Linked DNA regions of Homo sapiens: region 1 is linked to region 2. Evidence: promoter capture Hi-C in 16 types of primary human blood cells and fetal thymus (Javierre and others, 2016). All regions are on one chromosome and are shown on one strand. Each heading gives the region's core, a stretch centred on a gene start or on the middle of the fragment in contact. The rest is flanking DNA. Distances are from core to core; before and after follow the strand shown.

Evidence for each region. The method cuts DNA at HindIII sites, captures the fragments that hold promoters and counts their contacts. A CHiCAGO score of 5 or more calls a contact.
Region 1: a contact is called between a fragment that was not itself captured here and the fragment with the promoter of MTMR6 in region 2, in 1 of 17 cell types (fetal thymus). The highest score is 6.0, in fetal thymus.

Annotation. Positions count from the first base shown.
Region 1 is chr13:21,672,829-21,677,875 of GRCh38, forward strand. The region is part of intron 1 of FGF9 (fibroblast growth factor 9); the gene reads left to right. Among named protein-coding and RNA genes, the nearest start is that of FGF9, 4.3 kb to the left of the region's middle. RefSeq lists silencers at 839-1,058, 1,079-1,208, 2,619-2,668. The HindIII fragment of the contact is 3,279 bases long and covers 1-2,985 here.
Region 2 is chr13:25,284,174-25,289,380 of GRCh38, forward strand. It overlaps MTMR6 (myotubularin related protein 6), which reads right to left and starts at 3,315. Exons shown (of 14, transcript NM_004685.5): 1 at 3,051-3,315. The coding sequence starts at 3,074. RefSeq lists enhancers at 2,695-3,315, 3,019-3,358, 3,459-3,628. The HindIII fragment of the contact is 4,901 bases long and covers 2,654-5,207 here.

The DNA.
Region 1 (5,047 bases), core at 96-2,595, 3.6 Mb before region 2:
TTTGTCCTTCCAGCTATCAAGTGATAACCTCTGCTTTTAAATTTCCATAGTGTGCAGCCCTGTGTAGGTCTCCTGCGTGGCTCTCTGGTGTGAGTGTGTGCGCGCGTGCAAACGCTGCGAGCGAATTTTAAAGGGCATTCCGAGGATTTCATTTTTCAGCGGAGGGTATTTGTGACTCAGCACTGAGGGCTGCAGACTCGAGGGCTGGTGGCTCTGCCCACTTTATGCTTGCACACACGTGCTTGCCGGGGCACCCTGAGCCCAACGGCACGAAGTCAACTAACACAGTCCCAATTGGGTGGACTCTTGAGTTTTTTCCTTACTTAAAAAAAAAAAAATAAGCGCCAGTTTGGGCAACTAGACTGTTGGAAGGAGTTAACTTCTGAGTGAACCCACCTGACAACACTTAAACTAGGTCGTAAAAAACAAAGTCCTCTGGTGATTTTTCTTCCTCATGCTTTAGTGCCAGATGTTGAACACAATCTAAACTGTATGTTTAGCTTCGTGCGGCTGCGGATGATGCCAGAAGGTGAGGAGGACTTAGGCCTGGGCTGGGGATGGTCCCAGATCCACGAGGCCCAGGATTTGCTCCTCATGCTCACCCCTGAGCCTAAGCCCACAGCTGAGCCTAGTAGTGTGAAATTGCTCCGGCCGTCTCCACTCGCTGCTTAAAAAAAAGTTATAGCTCTTTGCTTTGCAATTATTCAGTTGAAATATAACTATCCCCTCCCCACCCCAGAAGTAAAGGTAGATTCTGGTTGTTGCAAAGAGAAGACTAAACTTTACTAAAAGTGCCGTTTCCATCTGGCCTCTTTAAGGGCTGCCACCCTGCCTAGCGTTCGATACCAGAACAACAGGCAGTGGGCGGCCCTGGGTGGGCGAGCGAGCGTGTCCGGGGCCGCGGCGGCCACCCGCAGGGTGTCGGGGCCGCGCCGACCGAAGCGAGCGGCGTGGGCGGCCGGCCTAGGTGTGCCAGGCGGCCGGAGCTCCAGCCCTCCCGCGCTCGCGGTCGGCAGGTGCCCGCTCGGCCGCCCGGGCCCCGCGGCGCACTTAGCGGCTGCCCGGCCGGCTCCGCGCGGTCCTAAACGCGCTCGCGTTCCGGCTCCCTTTCCGCCTGGCTCGGGTGCGCCCTTCAGTGCTGCGGGGACCACGGGGGCCGGGGGGCGGCAGGCAGGGGCTGACACACTTCTGGCCGCGTTTAGGGAATCCGGTTTTTCATTTTGGCCCAAGTTGAGCCCCTTCGCTTTCTCTTTGTGTGTGAGAGTGGGTCTGGCGGGGCTGACAGCCGCCGCCCTGGGCTGCACGGTGGTTTGCGGTGTGGGAACGGCTGGAGGCGCGCGCAGCGGCAGGAGAGTTGGTGGCGGGGACAGAGGACGGGCTGGAGGTCGGACCCCTGAGCTCCCCTGTCCCATTCCGTGTCCTTCTTCTGAAGCACGCAGCCGGGTTTTGGAGACTCGAAGGGCTCCGTGGTGCCCGGGAGGTGGGTCGGGGGCCCCTGGCCGGAGCCGCAGGGAAAGGAGTGGGGGTGGGGGGGACAAAGGGCCGCGGAGGCGGGCGGAGGGGGCGGCGTGCTATTGTTAACCGCTTTCCGAGAGCAGAGCTCGCGAGCTCGCCGATCGCGATCTGGCTTTCCCGCGCCCCCGCCTCCGCTCCGGCTTCACAACCGGGGGAGCCCGGGGTGTGCGCGGGAGCGCGGCGGGGGCGCACGGCTGCAGGGGCGCCGCGGCGGGCCCGAGCCGGTTTTATTGTGTGGATCAGCCGAGCCTGTCTTTGAGAGACCCTATTAGAACTCCGGTGCAGCACGACTGGGCCCTGGTGTGCAGAGATTATGGGATATTCTAGTTGGCGCTTCTTCACGCACCCCTTCCCTCCATGAGCATTTTTTTTTTTTGATGCAGTCACCTTTAGGATAGGACGTTTGCCACATGCAGTCGAGTCATTAGAAATCCCGTAACTCTGCCACTGGAGAGAGCGCGGATGCAAGGGCGGGGGCCACGCGGGAGGGGAGGGCAGGAGAGGCGCATTCTAGGGTGAGCGGATGAGGACAGCGGCGGGCTACAGTGGCTCAATAGAAACCGTTAAACAAAAAGCTAGACCCCTCACCCCTAGAGGTCAGAGAAAGGTGTTGTCAGGGAAGTGGCATCTCCACTCCTTAGACGCTCTCGGTACAGTGTTGCGGGGGATGTGGGGGCTGGGGGGGATGTGGGGGCTGGGGGGAGGGGCTAGGGGTAGTGTTGGATGGGAGGGGAGCGGAAGCCCCGGCCCAGGTTGGGGACTGGGGGCGCCGAGCCGCTAGCTAGCCCGTCGGCCTGGCGTCGGCCGAGGGGGAAGGGCGCTCTGGCGCTCCGCTGTGCCACTCACTCTGGCTGGGATGGAGTTGAGTGGGTGGCTGTGCGCAGTGGGGGTGGGGAAGCAGGGTGAGGCAGGAGGGTTATTTAAGTCTTTCATCCGGTTGCAGTGAGAAGCGGGCCCCCGGGGTGACAGCAGTGCCGCGGTCTCCCGCTGCTGCCGCTGCGGCAGGTCCCAATATTAGCAACCTCCGCAGAGCGGTGGTGCGTGTGCCGGGAGCCTCCTACCCTCGCCTTCCCAGCCCCGCCCGGAACGAGGCCGCGGCGGCGCTAGGACACCGCGGCTCGCGCGGGGAGGGCGGAGGGAGGGCACAGGCGCCGGGAGGGGGCGAGGGGGCTGCGGTGCCCCGGCTCTGGCACACCTGGCGCTCCCGCGCGCCGCCGCGGCCTCACCTTCGGCCCTCCTCCTCCTCCGGCAGCAGCCTCTCCTCCGCAGCCCGGCTCCCCTCTGGGGAGTTCGTCCTCACACTCAGTTTCTCTAGAAAAGAGTAACTGTAGGTGGGGGGTGCGGTGGGTTTACACCTTGATTAAAATAGAAGGTGCATTTTCTACCTGAAATCAAACAGCAGAAGGAAACGCGCTGGAAAAAGGATTTTTGCCGCCCCCATGCAGCCGCAGGTGACTGCAGCTGCTGGCAAGCTTGGCAGTGACACAGCAGCAGCAGTGCAGAGGACGTGGGGGTGGGGGAGTCTTACTGTTCCAGCAGGAGCTGCAGAGGTGACAACTTAGGTGGGACCTTGAAGGAGCCTTTTTTTTTTTTTTTCCCCCTCGGATTGGTGGTGTGGAGATAAGATTGAACAAGGAGAAAAGGAACTCGCAATTGTATCTCTGTGCAGTAGGCTGGGGGAGCGAGATGTCTTGTTTCATCTGTATATCTATATGCCTATATATAGAGCTCACTTTTAAAGCACTCCAGCCTTGCTAGATGGATAGAAATGTGAGCAGAAAATCATTTGGGGAAATAGTAATGTAAAATAATAAAAACATGAACGCTGGGCCTGATCTGCTATTTAACTTGTTTAGGAAACCTAAGTCTGTTCCCTTTTTGGCTGGGGTTAGGTAGCTCTGAAAGGCCGGTCTTCATCAGGACCTCAGATGAGCACCCAAACTGGGGCTTCCATTCAAATTGGGTCAGGTGAAGGTTTTACTAGAGGGGAGAAATATGATAGTATGATTTTTTTAAACAGGTGTTTAAAACTTATTTCCAGGGTTTTGAACTTTAATTCTGTTCTATGTATCTGACTCTTCAATGTCTCAGGAAAACACTGGGTGTTTAAGGAGATGGTTTTAGGATTGCTTCAGGTTCTGGAAAAATTAGTGGAGTTATAACTCCCATTCAGTTAGTCATTTCCTATATAAACTCTATGAGATGTGCTCAGGTTGCTACAGATCCGAACTTACCCCGGTGCAGGATCTGAGATGGTTGATCTGGCAGCCCTGGTTCGAGCTTCTCTGGGTGAGCAGGAAGCTCTGCAGGGAAGAGGCTTAATCATTAATTTTCTGCAGCCTCATGCCCTGCCCCTCTCGACAGTCTGCCTACATTTGTGTGGTCTGAAGAGTGCGGTTCTGTAATGCGTTGGGGGCTCTTAAGCCAGAGAACCATGTCATGAGGGCCAGAGTGGAGCAGCTCTGACTGCCTTCCTCTCCCACTGCCTTGCCTGGCCTTGGAGGTGAGGCCCAGCACAGATGGGCTCTAGGGGGCGGTGCCAGCTTTGGGATAATGGTCCATGTGAACAGAACTGGGGCAGCCCATCAGCTCTGGGGATAGTCACTAATAGTGAGTCTGGGGCAATGAGGAAGGTCCGGTGTGGTGATTTTCCTGAAATAGTCCAGGCATTGACCTGGTCTCTCATGGACCATGGATGATCTCACACCTCATCAAATCCAATGGGGTCCCAATGAGCATATCCTCATTTGGAACTGTTGACTGCTGTGGAAGAGAACAAAGAAATGACAGCAGTCATCGACCCTGTGCTTCCCATGTCACCCTATCACTACCCATTACTGTGGGCCGTCTGAGCTAAGGATGTCAAGGCTGTGTCTGCCCAAAATGAGCGACAGGCTGCCATGGTACACATGTGTGTGCCACAGTTCTAATTTTAGGCACAAACTCATCATTCCCTCCCTTCCTCCTCCCCTCTTCCTTCCTTCTTTTCTTTGCTCTTTCCTTCTTTCCCTTTCTCTCTCCTTGATCATTAAACATTCAGATGTCTCTGCACAGAAGGCTTCTCCTGGCTGTTATTGATCCAGCCCCCTCTGCTGCCCAGTCATGTGAGCAGATAACATGTGGAGTGGGTTGTACTCAGGGAGTGTAGTTGGAAGCACTTGCCTGGCACCAGCTCCACCCCAGAGAGAGCTGAATGGACCTGGTTGAGGTTATAGAATTTATTGTGGACAAGAGGGTACCAGGAATGATGAGGTTTCTGGTCTGGTTGGGGTGGGATCCTGTTGCGGGGTTGCTAGATCTTCCTGACCTTACAACAGTGGAATTCTTTGCATGGGGGAGAATGACTGTGACTCCTACGTTCAGTTGGTCTGCTTGTCCTTGCATCACTGAGGTGACCACATAAAAAGCTGGGCTGTTATTTTGACGTCTCTATTTTTAAGGAACTGCGGAGAAATGGGTGGTGGTTTGAGGTGATGAAATCTTTTCCACCTGGGGTCTGTAGGTAGTTCCTTCTCGCTTGGATAGCTTTTTG
Region 2 (5,207 bases), core at 2,065-4,564:
AGCATTTATTTCTGAATTAATACTAATGCACATTTAACAATTAGATTAAAACTAGAGAGGCACTGGAAAGAGCATACATAGTCTTTGGAGTTAAACACACCTTAGTTTAAATACTAATTCTATCTCTTGTGAACTAATTGAGCAGGTTACTTAAATTCTCTAAGCCTATTTCCTCCTCACCTATAAATGGAGATAATACTACCCAACTGACAGGGTTATTTAAGAGATCAGTGATGATAATGTATAAATTAACAGATTTATACAATTGTACATATTATAAAGTAATAATATTGTATAATTGGCTATATTGACATATAGTTGCTCAATAAATGGTAATTATTACTTTTCAAATAGAGCTGACTGAACAACAAAAATCACTAAATAGTCATAAAGGACACTCTACGGTCAATTTTGATCCTAATGACTAAACTACATAGAGGTCAAAACAGCTAATAAATCTAAAACAATCCACTTTTGCTTTTTAAATACTTACACTTATTTTTGCAGCAAACTAACTAAATCCAGGTGAAGGCTATGCATAATGGAAACAAAAGTTTGGCTATGTTCAAACCAATCTTTTAAAAGTAAGTTATTTCCCAATACATTAATAATTTAAGAACATGTTACAGTCCCCACAACAATTAACAGAATGTACCCTGAGGTCCACCTCTATCTTGCTGTTATATACCCAGTGTCAATACAGTGTCTGGCACATACTAGGTACCTAGAAAATATTTATTTGCGGTCTACATACACTCACTTAATATTACTCCAGAGTAGTGATCCAATACTAGAAAAACAACCCAAAGTAATAAAGGAGCATATTTGAAAAGTAGTTTTAATAGACAATTCATCAGAAATTTCTTAGTCTCTAAAAAGGCCTTATTAAACCACTAGCATGAGACCACTGTGTAAAGATAAGTCAAAATCAGAGCATTACTTGAAGAAAAGTTCATCAGTTGGTAGATAAGGAGGAATATCAGACAAAATGAAAGTCACCAGTGACAACTTTCAAAGAGCTAATAAGAGGGGCTACAACTCTACAAATAAAAACAAAGATATATATTCATAATAAATTGAATGAGGAAAGATTTAAAATAACCAAGGGATCCTAAATATTTTCCAAGTCTGTTCACTCTTATCATCCACCTAAGAATAGGATTTGCTCTAGTTGATCAGATTCAGTTTACTTTTACTGATTTTTTATTCTTTTCCGCCCCCCCCCCCCCAATTATGTCACCCAGGCTGGAGGGCAATGGCGCAATCTTGGCTCACTGCAACCTCCACTTCGTGGGCTCAAGCCATCCTCCCATCTCAGCCTCCCGAGTAGCTGGGACTACAGGTACATACCACCCCACCCGGCTTTCTTTTTTTTTTTTGAGACTGAGTCCCGCTCTATTGCCCAGGCTGGAGTGCACTGGTGCCATCTTGGCTCACTGCAATCTCCACTTCCCCGGTTGAAGCAATTCTCCTGCCTCAGCCTCTGAGTAGCTGGGATTACAGGCGCCTGCCACCATGCCCGGCTAATTTTTGTATTTTTAGTAGATATGGGGTTTTGCCAGGTTGTCCAGGCTGGTCTCGAACTCCTTACCTCAAGTGATCCGCCCACCTCGGCCTCCCACAGTGCTGGGATTACAGGCGTGAGCCACCGTGCCCAGCCTTTTACCGGTTTTCGATTGTGTGCTATGCACCGTAGAAAGCATATGAAAAATAGAGGAGCTTCGAACTGATGCAGAAGGAAGTCACGTGCACTTAGCTACTACATAATACATATCTGGAACCAATACAAGAACCTGATCCAATGTCCACTCTAGTCCTCTTTTCCTCTGTGCACCTTCTACGAGTTTGGTTATAGACTTAAGCACCCTTCCATTTTCAAAATTTAAGTACCCACAACTTGAATTCTCAAGTTATTTTATCTTTCTTCTCTTAAAAAAAAATGTTAAGGGGTTAGTTTTCAGAATCTTCAATTTTACTAGATACGGTATGCACAATGTTAAAGACAAGCTCCAATAAAAATTTATGTATACCTTTAAAAGGTTTGTGAAACATTTAAAAAATTTTTAAAAACACAAATTCTTCTTGGAACAATGAAGATAACGAACATCTGTGGTTCCCTAAATGAGCCGTAATTTTAAGATGGGCAGCAACTAAAGGGCTTCAGCTTTGCCAAAACGTCAAGAGGCTGCCTTGCAGTGGGCTCGCAGTGATTTTAAAATGTTATTCTTCTCGTCTCGATTTATGTTTTTCTCCCTCTCAAAGTTAAACTTAAATGTCGTTGGAAACGTAATTTGGTAACATTCTGATGTCATTTCCTTCCGTTTTTAAATTTGTAACGAAATAAAAATATTTGTTCGTTCTCAAAATGAAGGTCTTCCACACACAAAAATTAAGCATGGAGTGCAATAAGGTCAATCGAATAAAGCTGCATCCGACCTTTTAAAATATGGAATAACATTTTTCCCTTCTCCAGAACTCTTGACTACTGACACAGGACAATGCCTGAAGTATGAAGCACAGACACGGAAACACCGGATGCGAAAGACTGGAGACCGAGACAGCAAAGGGAGGTGGAGCGGAGTGCTGATCTCGGTTCCTCCAAAACTCGTACTGTGAATCTGTGACACGGGACAATGAAATGTGAGCAAGGACAAGCTTACACAGCATCATAATGTTAATTTGAAGACGGTTTTCCGGTTGATGAGGCAACGAAAGGCTGAAAGACTCCAAAGTTAAAGGAGCCCCAATTTTGCCCGAGAAAACGTAGAGCTAGGAGGGCGGTGACCAGTTTTCCCAGACTTATCTCTACGCACTCCAAGATGCTGAAAGTGGGACCCCTGCTCCTGTAGGTACAGGAGGCCTCTGCACCCCGCTTGGCCCAAGCTAACCCTGCCCTCCCAGACCAGGCCTGGCCAGACCCTCCCGCCCCGGGCCGGGTCTCCGCCGGGCCGGCTCCCAGCCCCAGTCAGGCCAGCAGAGCCTTCGTCTCCTCCTGCCTCAGCCGGGTCAGAGCAGGGCCCCTGAAGACTGGCGATCCCGCGCCCGACTACCTTGGTCGTCCGGATATGCTCCATCGCAAGGAGACGTCAGCCGGCAGCCGGTCTCACAGGCGTACCATACGGCTACAGAAACAGGGCGGTGACAGCGACAGAGAGCAAGCGGGAACTCCCTCCACCAGCCAGCGCCGCGGGTCTGTCTGCCGGCCCCGGTGGCGTCAACGGCGCAGGTGCAGCCGGTGAGCGCCGTCTCCTAGAAACACTTCCCCAAACCCCGCGGCCTCCCGGGGGACTCGGGGCAGGCAGACAGAGCGTGTGTGGACCGAGAGCGGCTTGCTGGTTCGTCCCGGACAGCGGCGGATCCCACAGCGCCCCCTGCTGGAGGAGGCCGGTACTGCTCACCACCCCACCCGAGGCGGTCTTTGTCATCCCGCCGAGCGGACGCGCGGGGCGGTCGGGGAGGAAGACTGCGTGAGAATGGATCCCGAGTAAAGGGTTCTTGTGGGGTGAGGGCAAGAGTGGAGGATGTTCTGAAGTCCATCGCCATACCACTGGACAGCACCAAATTTAGTTTGAGCTGCAGTTCTACTCATAAGAATGTATTCTAAGGAAATAATCAGATTTGGAGTTATTATTCTAAGGAAATAACCAAATAAGGAAACCAGCCTTATTTGAAACAATCAACTCTCCAATCCTACGGATTCCTTATGTAAAGTATGATGATTAGCTAGTCCTCAATCTGGTCTGGTGTCAGAGTCCCGCCTCCTACCTCAATTTCATACGATGTTAGCACCAGCATCCATTAAAACTCATCCTGTAGAGGGATATCACATAACGAAAATGTTAATGCTGCATTACTGAGTGAAGAAAAAACTGACTATGGAACAATAAGTTCAATGTAGCCGTGCTCTGTAATTTTTATTTATGTAAACAAAAAGTTTACATTTCTAGGTGAGGGTTACAGGTAATTTTTGTTAGAACACGTCTAATGTGGTACTTCTCAGCCTGGAGTGAGTTTTCTCCCCGGGGGACATTTGGTAACATCTGGAGATATTTTTGGTTGTCTCAAATGGTGGTGGTGGGGGGGTGGCGGCGGGGGGCAACTGGTGGGTGGAGGCCAAGTCACAAGTCGGCTGCTGAACACCCTACTAGGCACCAGACCAACCCCCCAACTACAGGGAATTATCCGGCAGATGACAACAGTGCAGAGGTTGAGAAACCCTGCTCTATGCCAGGCGCGGTGGTTCACGCCTGTAATCCCAGAACTTTGGGAGGCTGAGGCGGGCGGATCACTTGAGGTCAGGAGTTAGAGTCCGAGAAACTCTGCTCTACGTTTTGTAAGTATTCTGTACTAAGCCGGTTAAGGTTTGTAATCTTCATCTTTCATACTGTGATTGGTGTTAGAAAAGCCTAACATCTAAATTTTCTTTTATAATTAAAAATTTTGTTTCACTTATTTGTTTCATTTTGTTCAAGTTGTCTTGGTTTGTTTTGTTTTGAGTGCCTACGATGTTTCAGACAGATTGCCAAAGCAATGGAGATGGTTATTAAACACAACAGCCTTTGCGGTGGAGTTGCTGACTCCTCTAAGCTAAATATGTAATAAGAGTTACATTAAACCACCTAGAAACCAACCTTAGTACAGTATCACATCCACCCCCTCCCCCCGAAAAAAAACCCCACAAATCCTGCTCAGAAAAAAAAAAAAATATATATATATATATATATACACATATATATATATATATATATACATATATATATATATACACATATATATATATATAGAGAGAGAGAAAAGTAATGTAGGTCTTTACTGAGGATTGCTTTTTGAGAAAACAGAAAGAGGTGAATTGTATAGCATACAGCAAGACTTTCTTAACAAAACTTTTTATATCATTTTCCTCCCAATTTACAACTTCCTCCTTCCCCATTCCCCTACAGATTATCCTCCCTCTTCTCATCTCCTCACTTCCTGTGTCCTCTCTTTACCAATTCTCACAGAGAGGCAATCATAATGATGTCAGGTGACCAAATGTACTGAGTGCTTTACGGGTATTCTGAGGAAAATGCTATTGCTTTCTTTATTTTAGAGATGAGACAAGCGAGACACAATGAAGTGAAGTAACTTGCCCAATATCACATAGCAGATAAAGCCAAGATCCATGTTATAAAGCCAGACAGGCTGACTTCAGAGTCTGTATTCTTAAC